Linked DNA regions of Homo sapiens: regions 1, 2 and 3 are each linked to region 4. Evidence: promoter capture Hi-C in 16 types of primary human blood cells and fetal thymus (Javierre and others, 2016). All regions are on one chromosome and are shown on one strand. The core of a region is centred on a gene start or on the middle of the fragment in contact, and the rest is flanking DNA. Distances in the headings are between cores, read along the strand shown. Region 1 holds the start of TSPAN16-AS1 (TSPAN16 antisense RNA 1). Region 2 overlaps TSPAN16 (tetraspanin 16). Region 3 holds the start of ANGPTL8 (angiopoietin like 8). Region 4 holds the start of ELAVL3 (ELAV like RNA binding protein 3).

Region 1 (2,821 bases), core at 1-2,500, 160 kb after region 4:
GGCCTACTTGCTGCTATCTGAACATACCAGGCCCCTGCCCCAAGGCCTTTGCCCAGAATGTTCCCCCTGCCTCTGCCTGGATGGCCCTTACCCAAGGTAGTCACAGTTGATATGGTTTGGCTTTGTGTCCCCACCCAAATCTCATCTGGAATTGTAATCCCCATAATCCTCACGTGTCAAGGGAGAGACCAGGTGGAGGTCATTGAATCCTGGGGGCGGTTCCCCCATGCTGTTCTCCTGATAGCAAGTGAGTTCTCACGAGATCTGATGGTTTTATAAGGGATTCTTCCGCCTTCTCTCGGCTCTTCTCCTTCCTGCCACCTTGTGAAGAAGGTATCTGGCTTCCCCTTTGCCTTCTGTTATAATTGTAAATTTCCTGAGGCCTCCCCAGCCATGTTGAACTGTGAGTAAATTAAACCTCTTATGTTTTTTTGGGTATTTTTTTGTTTTTTTTTTTTTGAGACTCAGTCCTACTCTGCCACCCAGCTGGAGTGCAGTGGTGCCATCTTGGCTCACTGCAACCTCCGCCTCCCAGGTTCAAGCAATTCTCCTGCCTCAGCCTCCCGAGTAGCTGGGATTACAGGCACACTCCACTACGCCTGGCTAATTTTTGTGTTTTTAGTAGAGACGGGGTTTCACCACGTTGGCCAGGCTGGTCTCGAACGCCTGACCTCATGATCTGCCCACCTTGGCCTCCCAAAATGCTGGGATTACAGGCGTGAACCACCGTACACGGGCAAACCTCTTTCCTTTATAAATTACCCAGTCTTGGGCAGTTCTTTCCAGCAGTAGGAAAACAGACTAATACAACAAAGCTCCCCTAACTGAACTTCCTCTTTTGGGCTACTGTGCAAATCTCACTTTCTCACTGCCCCCTCCCCTGATTTAGTACTGCAATCTCCCTCCCCAGCATTTCTTTTTTCTTTTTCTTTTCTTTTCTTTTTTTTTTTTTTGGAGACAAGGTCTTGCCGTATGGCCCTGGCTGGAGTGCAGTGGCACAATCATGGCTCACTGCAGCCTCGAACTCCTGGACTCAAAGGATCCTCCCACTTCAGCCTCCTGAGTTTCTGGAACTACAAGCAAGCACCACCACATCCAGCTGATTGAGTGATTGAGAGATGGGATCTTGCTATGTTGCCCAGGCTGGTCTTGAACTCCCAGCTTCCAGCCATGCTCCCGCCTTGGCCTCCCAAAGTGCTAGGATTGGCCAGGTGTGGTGGCTCATGCCTGTCATTCCAGCACTTTGGGAGGCTGAGGCAGGAGGATCACTTGAGGTCAGGAGTTTGAGATCAGCCTGGCCAACATGACAAAACCCCATCTCTACTAAAAATATAACAAATAGCTGGGCCTGGTGGCACATGCCTGTAATCCCAGCTACTCGGGAGGCTGAGGCGGGAGAATCGCTTGAACAAGTGGGGCAGAAGTTGGGGTGTGCCGAGATCGTGCCATTGCACTCCAGCCTGGATGACAAGAGAGAAACTCCGTCTCAAAAAAAAAAAAAAAAGTCCTGGCCGGGCGTAGTGGCTCAGGCCTGTAATCCCAGCACCTTGGGAGGCGGAGGCGGGCAGGTCACGAGGTCAAGAGATCGAGATCATCCTGGCTAACACGGTAAGACCCCGTCTCCACTGAAAATACAACAAAAAAATTAGCCGGGCGTGGTGGCGGGCGCCTGTAGTCCCAGCTACGCGGGAGGCTGAGGCAGGAGAATGGCGTGAACCCGGGAGGTGGAGCTTGCAGTGAGCCAAGATCGCGTCACTGCATTCCAGCCTGGGCGACAGAGCGAGACTCCGTCTCAAAAAACAAAACAAAACAAAACAAAATACAACCTAAATGACAGGTTTGGAGAGCTTCTGAGTTGATGAACACATGGAGGTGCTGGAAGGGTGGTGCCCCCCTCCCCAAGAAAGGGTGTGGAAGTGCTGCACACCATCCCCCACACATTGCCCTCTTTATCACTTCCATTTGGCTGTTCCTGAGTTGTCTCCTTTTTTTGTTTTTTTGTTTTGTTTTGTTTTGTTTTGTTTGTTTTGAGACAGAGTCTCGCTCTGTCGCCCAGGCTGGAGTGCAGTGGCGCGATCTCGGCTCACTGCAAGCTCCGCCTCCCGGTTCAAGCGATTCTTCTGCCTCAGCCTCCGGAGTAGCTGGGATTACAGGGCGTGTGCCACCACGCCCGGCTAACTTTTGCATTTTTAGTAGAGACGGGGTTTCATCATATAGGCCAGGCTGGTCTCAGACTCCTTACCTCGTGATCCGCCCGCCTTGGCCTCCCAGAGTGCTGGGATTACAGGCATAAGCCACTGCGCCTGGCCTGAGTTGTCTCCTTTATAATAAATCAGGAGTAGTAAGTAAAACACTTGCCTGAGATCCGTGAGTCATTCTAGCAAATTATCAAACCTGAAAGGGAGGGGGCTTGTGAGAACCCCCCCTGACTTTGTAGCCACATTGGACAGAAATATGGGTAACCTGGGAACTCAATACTTGATACCTCTGAAGTGAGGGAAGCTCAGTTTTGTGGGACTCAGCCCTTAAATCTGTGGGGTCACACACCAACTCTGGGTAATTGGTGTCAGAACTGAATTGTAGAACACCCAGCGGGTGTCCACAGAGAATTGGAGAATTACTTGGTGTGGAAAACCCCACATGTTTGGTGTCAGAAGTGTGGGTAAAAAAGTTTATTTCTGGCTGGGGGCAGTGGCTTACGCCTGTAATCCCAGCACTTTGGGAGGCTGAGGTGGGAGGATCACTTGAGGTCAGGAGTTCCAGACCAGCCTGGCCAACATGGCAAAACCCCGTCTCTACTAAAAATACAAAAATTAGCCGT
Region 2 (2,854 bases), core at 24-2,523, 180 kb after region 4:
ACGACAACCATCCGATTTCTCAATCTTTTCCCCACCTTTCCCCCCTTTCTATTCCACAAAGCCGCGATTGTCATCCTGGCCCGTTCTCAATGAGCTGTTGGGCACACCTCCCAGACGGGGTGGTGGCGGGGCAGAGGGGCTCCTCACTTCCCAGTAGGGGCGGCCGGGCAGAGGCGCCCCTCACCTCCCGGACGGGGCGGCTGAGGCCAGGAGTTTTTAAGATCAGCCTGAGCAACATGGTGAAACCCCATATCTACAAAAAAAAAAAAAAAAATTAGCCAGGCATGGTGGCACGAACCTGCAGTCCCAGCTACTCAAGAGGCTGAGGTGGGAAGGTTGCTTCAGCCTGGGAGGCAGAGGTTGCAGTGAGCCATGATCCCCTTACCGCACTCCAGCCTGGGCAACAGAGTGAGATCCTGTCTCAAAAATATATATGTGAATATATATATGTATGTGTGTGTGTGTGTGTGTGTGTGTGTGTATATATATATATATATATGTATGTGTATATATATATGTATGTGTGTATATATATATTTATATACATATGTATATAAATATATATGTATATATACAAAGCAGAATTGCCATAGAATCTAGCAAATCCCTTTTTTTTTTTTTTTTTTTTTTTGAGATGGAGCCTCACTCTGTTGCCCAGGCTGCAATGCAGTGGCATGATCCTGGCTCACCGCAGCCTCTGCCTCCCGGATTCAAGCGATTCTCCTGCCTCAGCCTCCCGAGTAGCTGGGATTACAGGCACACGCCACCATGCCTGGCTAATGTTTGTATTTTTAGTAAAGACACACACTGCCTGATTTCACTCCTAGGAGGTCCCTAGAGTCGTCAGATTCATATAGACAGACAGGAGCATGGTGGGTGCCAGGGGCTTGGGGAGGGAGAATGTGGAGTGAGCGTTTCATGGGACAGAGTTTTAGTTTGGGAAGATAAGGAAGTTCTAGAGATGGTGGTGATGGTCGCACAACAATGCGAATGTGCTTAATGCCGCTGAACTGCACACTTCAAAATTGTTAAATGGGGCCGGGCACGGTGGCTCACGCCTATAATCCCAGAACTTTGGGATGCCAAGGCGGGTGGATCACCTGAGGTCAGGAGTTTGAGACCAGCCTGACCCATATGGTGAAACCCCGTCTCTACTAAAAATACAAAAATTAGCCAGGTGTGGTGGTGGGCGCCTCTAATCCCAGCTACTTGGGAGGCTAAGACAGGAGAATTGCTTGAACCTGGGAGGTGGAGGTTGCAGTGAGCTGAGATTGCGCCACTGCACTCCAGCCTAGGCAACAGAATGAGACTCCAACTCAAAAAAAAAAAAATGTTAAACGATACATTTCATGTTTACAAGATACAGGGTCTTGCTCTGTCACCCAGGCTAGAGTGCAGTGGCACCATCATAGTTCACTGAAGCCTTGACTTCCTGGACTCAAGTGATCCTCCCACCTCAGCCTCCTTAGTAGCTGGGACCACAAGCATGTGCCACTGTGACTGGCTTTTTTTTTTTTTTTTAAACAGAGCCTCCCTCTGTCGCCCAGGCTGGGATGCAGTGGTGCCATCTCAACTCACTGCAACCTCTACCTCCTGGGTTCGAGCTATTCTCCTGCCTCAGCCTCCTGAGTAGCTGAGACTACAGATGCCTGCCACCACACGGAGGTAATTTTTGTATTTTTAGTAGAGACGGGGTTTCACCATGTTGGCTCAGCTGGTCTCAAACTCCTGACCTCAAGTGATCCTCCCACCTCGGCCTCCCAAAGTGCTGGGATTACAGGTGTGAGCCACTTCGCCCGCCCATGTTGTGTACCTTTACACCACAATTTTTTTTTTTTAAGTAAGCCTCACCTTCTCCATGACCAAGTTCCACTGTGTAGAATAGTCGTCTGGCTCGTTGTAACCTCTGTAATTCTTCCTCAGGGTCACGAAGGTGTGTTCCAAGGCCACATCTCCAACCTCACAGAGAGGACAGGAAGTGATCAGTACCCCAACTAGCAAGAGTGGCCCGTTCATTGGCCGAGGTTCTTGAGGATAGAGTGGGAGGTGGGAGCGTCCCTCGTGCTGCCTTCATTTTTCCTACCCTCAGCTCAGGGGTCTGTGCTAGAGGAAGACACACGAAGGCTACTGTGCCCCCACCACAAGAGAGGGAAACAGGGAGACGCGTGGGTCTGGAGCCAAGCGTATCTCTCTGTACCCATCGCACACGAATTTGAATCATCTGCTCTTTGGAATCGCCTACACCCTGCTGCACCCACGATGTGGCTGTAACTCCATTAAAGAATTGAATATCATCTTCCACGGAATCTCTGTCTGCACAAAAGGGGCACATTTAATTTTCTGTTTTTTAAATAAAGGTTTAAAAAATCCTTTTGCAAAGCGATGATAGAGGCACGTGGTTCGAAATTGACATGCACAGGAGAACAGACCATGAAAAGTCTCTCTCCCACCCCTTCCTCCCAGCCAAAAGTTTCCTCCCACTCCATGCCAATGACTGTTAACTGTTTCCTGTGTCCCCAAAGAGATGTTCTTCTATGTGTGTCAAAGCAAAGTATATTTTCACTATTCTTCCTCTTTGGTTTATGCTGCACTCATTTTTCTGCGTCTGGCTGTTCTCGACAGGAGTAGCAGGGGCTCTTGGTGGCCTGCCCATAACTCTGTGGCCCTTGTCAGTTCTGTGCCTACTGGCCTGACTCCCTAGTGCCAGCAAGTGAGGATTCTCTGGCCTCTGAGCCCACATGCCCCCTGGGAGCAGCCCTCCATCAATGGCTGGTTGGAGTTGGTGGATCAATATCCCAGCTCCCTCTCCACTTGAGTGGAATAACCTAGGTGCATGTTCTATGCTGTGCCCAGC
Region 3 (2,724 bases), core at 92-2,591, 240 kb after region 4:
ATATGGATTATTAAAGGGCATAGAACAGTGCTGGGTACTTACTGGGTGCTCACAAAATGTTACCAGTTTCTCTAGTAGTAAGAATTTATTGGCCAGGTGTAGTGGCTCACACCTGTAATCCCAGCACTTTGGGAAACCGAGGCAGGCAGATCCCTTGAGGTCAGGAGTTCGAGACCAGCCTGGCCAACATGGTGAAATCCCATCTCTACTAAAAAATACAAAAATTAGCTGGTGCACCTGTAATTCCAGCTACTCAGGAGGCTGAGGCAGGAGAATCACTTGAACCTAGGAGGTGGAGGTTGCAGTGAGCCAAGATCACACCACTGCACTCCAGCCTGGGCAACAGTGAGACTCTGTCTCAAAAAAAAAAAAAAAAAGAATTTATTGAGCACCAACTGTGTGCCCGCCCCATGCTGAATATTTTACCTGCATTGAGTACCTGGCCCTACTGTGAGATATCAGGTGTTGCCCTTATTTGCAACTGAGGCACACAAAAGGGAAACTGAGGCACACAAAAGGACTTGAGTTTTGTCTGGGGACATGCAGGGTAGAGGCCACAGAGCTGGGAGGCTGATCTGGGAGGTCTTTGGGACTCAAGGTGCAGAAGCGAGTTCTGGCCGGAAATCAGGGTCTCAGCCCACTAGGGTTGGGGGAGCTCCTTACCTTTAAGACCTCAAATTCTCGGTAGGCAGGGCCCAGCCAGGCGCTCCTCAGCTGGACTTCTAGCCGCTGCACGCTGTCCCGTAGCACCTTCTGTGCCTGGGCCACCTCCCCCAGCACCTCAGCTGTGGCCTCTGCCTGCAGCTGCAGAATATCCTCCTCCATCTGCTTAATAAACAGTGGGTCACTAGTAGGATGTCCAACTCATCTTTGTGTACCTAAGGACTTGCCTGAGTTTATCGCTGAAAATCTTGTATCCCAGGAATCCCTTCAGTCCTGGGCAAACCAGGATGGTTGGTTACCCTAGACACGAACTCCTCTTTGGACTCCTGGCCACCCCACAGTGTCGCAGCTACGGTGCCCACCTGAGTCTCCAACAGGCTTGCCCGAAGTTCCTGGGCTGCATCCCGGCCCCGGCTGACCTCCTGCCCCAGGAGTTCTATTGTGCGGCCATAGAGACCCAGGCTGTTCCTGGCCTTTGTCAGCCGTCCCTCCGTGGTCCTGTACACACCGTTGAGGGCCTGGCCCAGCTGCAGGGTCCCATGGAAGAGCAGGGTCAGCTCCTCATGCTGTGCCAGTTCTGGGCCGCCCATGGGGGCCGCTGAGGCAGGCCGGGTCACCATTGCCAGGGCCCAGAGCAGGCACAGAGCAGGCACTGGCATGACTGAGGGTCTAAGGTATAGCCACAGCACTGTCACTGAAGCCTTTTATGCCTCATACCCCCACTGATCCCCAGTCAATCGTTAACTGGCCGACCTGGTGCCCCGCATTGCACAAGGGCCTGGCAGTGGTGCGATAGTTGCATCAGGCGAATGTCCGGCTAGGCCACGCCGGGATCACGCTTCCTGGGGCTCAGGGCCAGGTGTGGGTGGGGGGCATTGGGAGAGGACGGGCCCCAGACCCTGCTGGGAGTTCCTGAGACTCACCATGCTGAGCCTGTTTCTCCATCTATGAATAGGCATCGCAATGATGATGGTAATAACAGTAAAGATTTTATAAGCATTGATGGTTTGCCCTGAGCTGTTTGACCTGCCATTACAATATCTGCTCTTGTTCCCCTCCCACATACTTGCCACGTGGGGGCTTTTATTGGCCTGGTTAGTATCCAAGGGGGCAGGTGCAGGTGGCAGAGACTCTCCCAAGGTCACACAGCCTGATCTCCAAGACCTGCATATGCCCAGATCACCACTGACTGCCATTTTACTCCGTGGGTGATTGTGCAAGTACCTCAGTTTCCCTGCTTGTAAAATGGCGGTGATGTTAGTCCTGCCTCATGAGCTACTTGTGAGAAGTAAATGAGTTATTTCATGTTGAGTGCTTAGAACAGAGCCTGGCACACAGTAGGCGCGATTATTTCATTGTTGTAGTAATAGTGTTTGGTGCAATTATTGTCATTGTTGTTATTTATCATCATCAGTATCATTACAAAGGCTCAGCTGGAAGGCCTGAAGTGCCCATTATACACATAGGGAAACTGAGGCCCAGAGAGGGGTCAAGGCTTGCACAGAGTTGCCCCTGGGGGAAGGAGGCAGGACTCGGACTCTGGCCTCAGTTTCCCCACCTGAGAAACAGGCCACATAACTCTAGTGACCTCCTGGGGGAAGGGCAGTCAGGCCCTTGGGTGGGGCTTAGGCTTGACCACTGGCCACCTGAGGTACCTTGGAACTCTGGCCCTGAGTGCCTCGCTATTCTCTGCCTTCTGTGTGTCACTGTGCCCCATGAGTGCCTCCAATGTCCTTCTGTATTCCCACCCTCTACCACACTGTTCCCAATCTGTGTTTTTAGGGTGCTCGCTTGTCCCCCACCCTCTGCCCTCTGTCCTATCTCCTGACTGATACCTGTATTACCTCTCACCGGGCCCTCAATGCCCCAGCCTCATGACCTACTCTTCCTGGACTGTCTGTGCTCCCAGCCAGCCTTGTCCCATCACCCCAGCCTTGTATGTGCACCTTCAGGGCCCCTGTCCCTCTGACACCCCCATCCTGCCCCCCACAGGAACCTGCTGTACGTGTACCCGCACAGCCTCAACTTCAGCAGCCGCCAGGGCTCCGTGCGCAACCTTGC
Region 4 (2,700 bases), core at 93-2,592:
GACGGAAACCGGGAGGAACACGGGGTGGGGAACAGACCATCGCTTGGGGCCCCTAGCGCCCGCAGCCAGGTCGCCCCGGCGAGCCCAAGAGGGGCCACCCGGGGATCTGCACCGCCACCGCCCCTATTGCGCGGGCCACTGCGATTGGCCTGCCCTTTCCAGGCGTGGCAGCATCCCCTGGTGCGCGCACTCCCATTGGCTCGATCTCTAGGGCATCTTCCAGTAACTGGTTATCTCAAGGGCCGCCCCTGATTGGGCAAATTAGGCTCTCCTCGCTGGTGGCGCTCTCTGACAGTCTGGAGCCTAAAGGGCGTGCAGGAACGAGGATTGGGTGGGGACTGCCGCTCTCCAGTTAGGGGGTCTGGGCTACCTCGCCGGCAGCGCCCTCGACCGGACTGTCGGATTGCTGTCTGTGGTGCTGAAGCCTCACGCCCTGGCGACCCCGCCCCAGTGTGTGCTAGTTCCCGCGCCCCGACGTAAACATGCACCGGCGCCCGCGCACCAAAGGAGGCTGCGCCACCCCCAACGCCTTAGAGAGAGGCCAGGTTCCCCCTAGCAGAGAGCGAGCATGACTCCACAGTCAGGAGGACCAATCACGAGCCTAGAAAGCCAGGACATTTATGTGGCAGATCCACCCACCCCAGTTCTGTGGGGTCCAAGAAGGATCCGTGGTTTCCCAGAGCTGCATGGCTCCAGCGATGATTGTCCAGAACACTGAGCCCCAAACCTTTTCACCCCCTTCGGAGCAGTGCGGAGTTTCCTTGCACTGGGGAGTGCCAGTCCTTACCTTTTGAACCCTAGAAGGATCCAGCTCACTCAAAACCAACAGCGTCCCAGTCTCCTTCTGCAGAAGACTAGGGCCACAGTAGCCACCCTCCCCCGTGGTCTTGAGGTGGTCTACACTGGTGCCTCCAAATCTGGGGACCCAGGCCTCTGCCTACTAAAATATTGGTTCCTGATCCCCTGTCCAGTTCCCTCAGTGGACAACACCTCTGGAAGGTCGCATATTCAGGCCACTAATACCTCCTCGCTCTGTTGGCTCCTCCAGCTCTAGGAGCTGGACGGAGGAGGGGAGCCCGTCTCCTGGCCCGAAAGCCAGCCCAAGAAGGGGTGCCAGGGTAGGAAGCAAGGGCCTCGAGGGAAGGAGGGCCCAAATCTGGCAACCCGAGCACCTAGGATGCGCTTTTGGGGGATTCAGAGTCCCGACCAGTGCGCGCTCACTTCCACCTGCCGCGCCGTCGGGAGCCGCGAGGAGGCGGAGCTCGGTCGCCGCAGCCAATGAGCGACGCCGGCGCTGGCAGCTGCTGCTATAAAGGGCTGGGGGCGGCGGCGGCGCGGTCCAGAGCGCGGAGCGCGCAGCGCGGGCCGGAGGGAGGGAGGGAGGGTGGGCGAGGGGAGAGGACTTGAACACACGGGACCGGACAGGACCGACCGAGGGGCGGCGGCGAAAGGCAGAGCGCCGCGATCTCTGTCGGGAAGCGCAACCTCCCCGGGCCCCGCGGGGCCGCGCAGGGGGCGTCCTCAACCCCGCGCCCGCTCCCTCTTTCCATCCCCTGCCGCCCGCAGGCCACCCCGGGGCCCGGCCATCCGCGCGCGCATCCCCGGGTTCGGGCCCGTCCCTGGCCCTCGAGGGAGCCGCCGCCTTCATCGCCACATCTGCAGCGGCCGCACCAGAGGCCGCCCGGGCGGGACCCCAGCGTGAGCATCGGGCGCCCCCCTAGGAGTGCACCACCCCCGGAGCCCCCCTCAACACGGACCGCGCCCGCCGGGCACACAAGAATGGTCACTGTAGGTATTCCCCTGTCGCCGAAAGGGAATCGGGACGGGGAGGAGTTGGGCCCAGGCTCCGCGGAGATTGGGCGGGTGCGGCGGGGGGGGTAGGACCAGGCCTAGCTAGGCCCGGGTTGGGGGGGTAGGACCAAGCCTCGGGGCCTGAGAGTGGGCAGGGCCGCGCCCAGAGTGCTGAGGGCGCTTAGAGCTTGGTCTGAGAGGGCCTTAGGGAGACTGACTGCGATTCGGGAGGCGTCCGACGCCGCCCTGGAGGCGGGATTGCCCCCTCTCCAGCAGGCCTGATGGGGGAGGGGCCGCGGCGGCTAAGGATGCTTCCTCCATCCAGGCCCAGACCCCGCAGGCCGCCCAGGCAAACGCAGGGCCCGATCACTGGTGCTGGGCCAAGCCAAAGCGACAAAGCGTCCCCGAGAGCCCTGGGAAAGCGGGTGGCGTCGGATCGCGCGCCCCGGGCCTCGGCCGCACCCGGGAGGCGGGCGTCTCGTCCTCGAGCCCGTCGACCTTGCGGCAAGCGGGGAGGGGAGAGGAGGGGGCGCGCCCGGAGGCCCCGCGGGCCCGCCGCCGCTGCTGCCGCGTCCCTTTGTTTCTCGGCGCTTCTTCGCGGGCCGCAGCCTCGCGCGGGCGCCTCGGGCTGCGGGGAGGGGGAGGGGAGAGGAGGGCCCGCGGGTTGGGGGGGCACCTCTGGGCTCCCGGGTCTCCGCCCCCCGGGAGATGGGGTGGGAGGCCGAGACAGCCCCCTTAGGCCAGGTCCAGGCTCCCCACCTCGCCAAGGCTCTGGGCCGCGAGGTGACCTTGAGCGCGGCCCGCCCGCCTGCTCGCCCGCACCGCTAGCCCCGCGCTCGGTGCTTTCAGCAGCCACGGAGCTGGTCAGCTCCCGAGCGCGCAGCCCCTCCCGCCCTGCCACGCCCTGCC

Evidence for each region. The method cuts DNA at HindIII sites, captures the fragments that hold promoters and counts their contacts. A CHiCAGO score of 5 or more calls a contact.
Region 1: a contact is called between a fragment that was not itself captured here and the fragment with the promoter of ELAVL3 in region 4, in 2 of 17 cell types (erythroblasts and endothelial precursors). The highest score is 6.1, in erythroblasts.
Region 2: a fragment that was not itself captured here is called in contact with the fragment with the promoter of ELAVL3 in region 4 in 2 of 17 cell types (erythroblasts and endothelial precursors); the score reaches 7.3 in erythroblasts.
Region 3: a contact is called between the fragment with the promoter of ANGPTL8 here and the fragment with the promoter of ELAVL3 in region 4, in 10 of 17 cell types (neutrophils, M2 macrophages, M0 macrophages and 7 more). The highest score is 25.1, in neutrophils.

Annotation. Positions count from the first base shown.
Region 1 is chr19:11,318,806-11,321,626 of GRCh38, reverse strand. It overlaps TSPAN16-AS1 (TSPAN16 antisense RNA 1), which reads left to right and starts at 302. Exons shown (of 3, transcript NR_187778.1): 1 at 302-403. It also overlaps a transcript of TSPAN16 not described here. The HindIII fragment of the contact is 4,796 bases long and covers 1-2,821 here.
Region 2 is chr19:11,300,306-11,303,159 of GRCh38, reverse strand. It overlaps TSPAN16 (tetraspanin 16), which reads right to left. Exons shown (of 7, transcript NM_001282509.2): 4 at 1,852-1,959. It overlaps TSPAN16-AS1 (TSPAN16 antisense RNA 1), which reads left to right. Exons shown (of 3, transcript NR_187778.1): 2 at 1,528-1,665; 3 at 1,924-2,369. Among named protein-coding and RNA genes, the nearest start is that of TSPAN16, 5.6 kb to the right of the region's middle. The HindIII fragment of the contact is 4,606 bases long and covers 1-2,854 here.
Region 3 is chr19:11,238,236-11,240,959 of GRCh38, reverse strand. ANGPTL8 (angiopoietin like 8) reads right to left here and starts at 1,341. Exons shown (of 4, transcript NM_018687.7): 1 at 1,026-1,341; 2 at 664-825. The coding sequence starts at 1,322. It overlaps DOCK6 (dedicator of cytokinesis 6), which reads left to right. Exons shown (of 48, transcript NM_020812.4): 15 at 2,656-2,724. The HindIII fragment of the contact is 20,410 bases long and covers 1-2,724 here.
Region 4 is chr19:11,479,688-11,482,387 of GRCh38, reverse strand. ELAVL3 (ELAV like RNA binding protein 3) reads left to right here and starts at 1,342. Exons shown (of 7, transcript NM_001420.4): 1 at 1,342-1,788. The coding sequence starts at 1,780. RefSeq lists silencers at 6-255, 2,630-2,700. The HindIII fragment of the contact is 20,383 bases long and covers 1-2,700 here.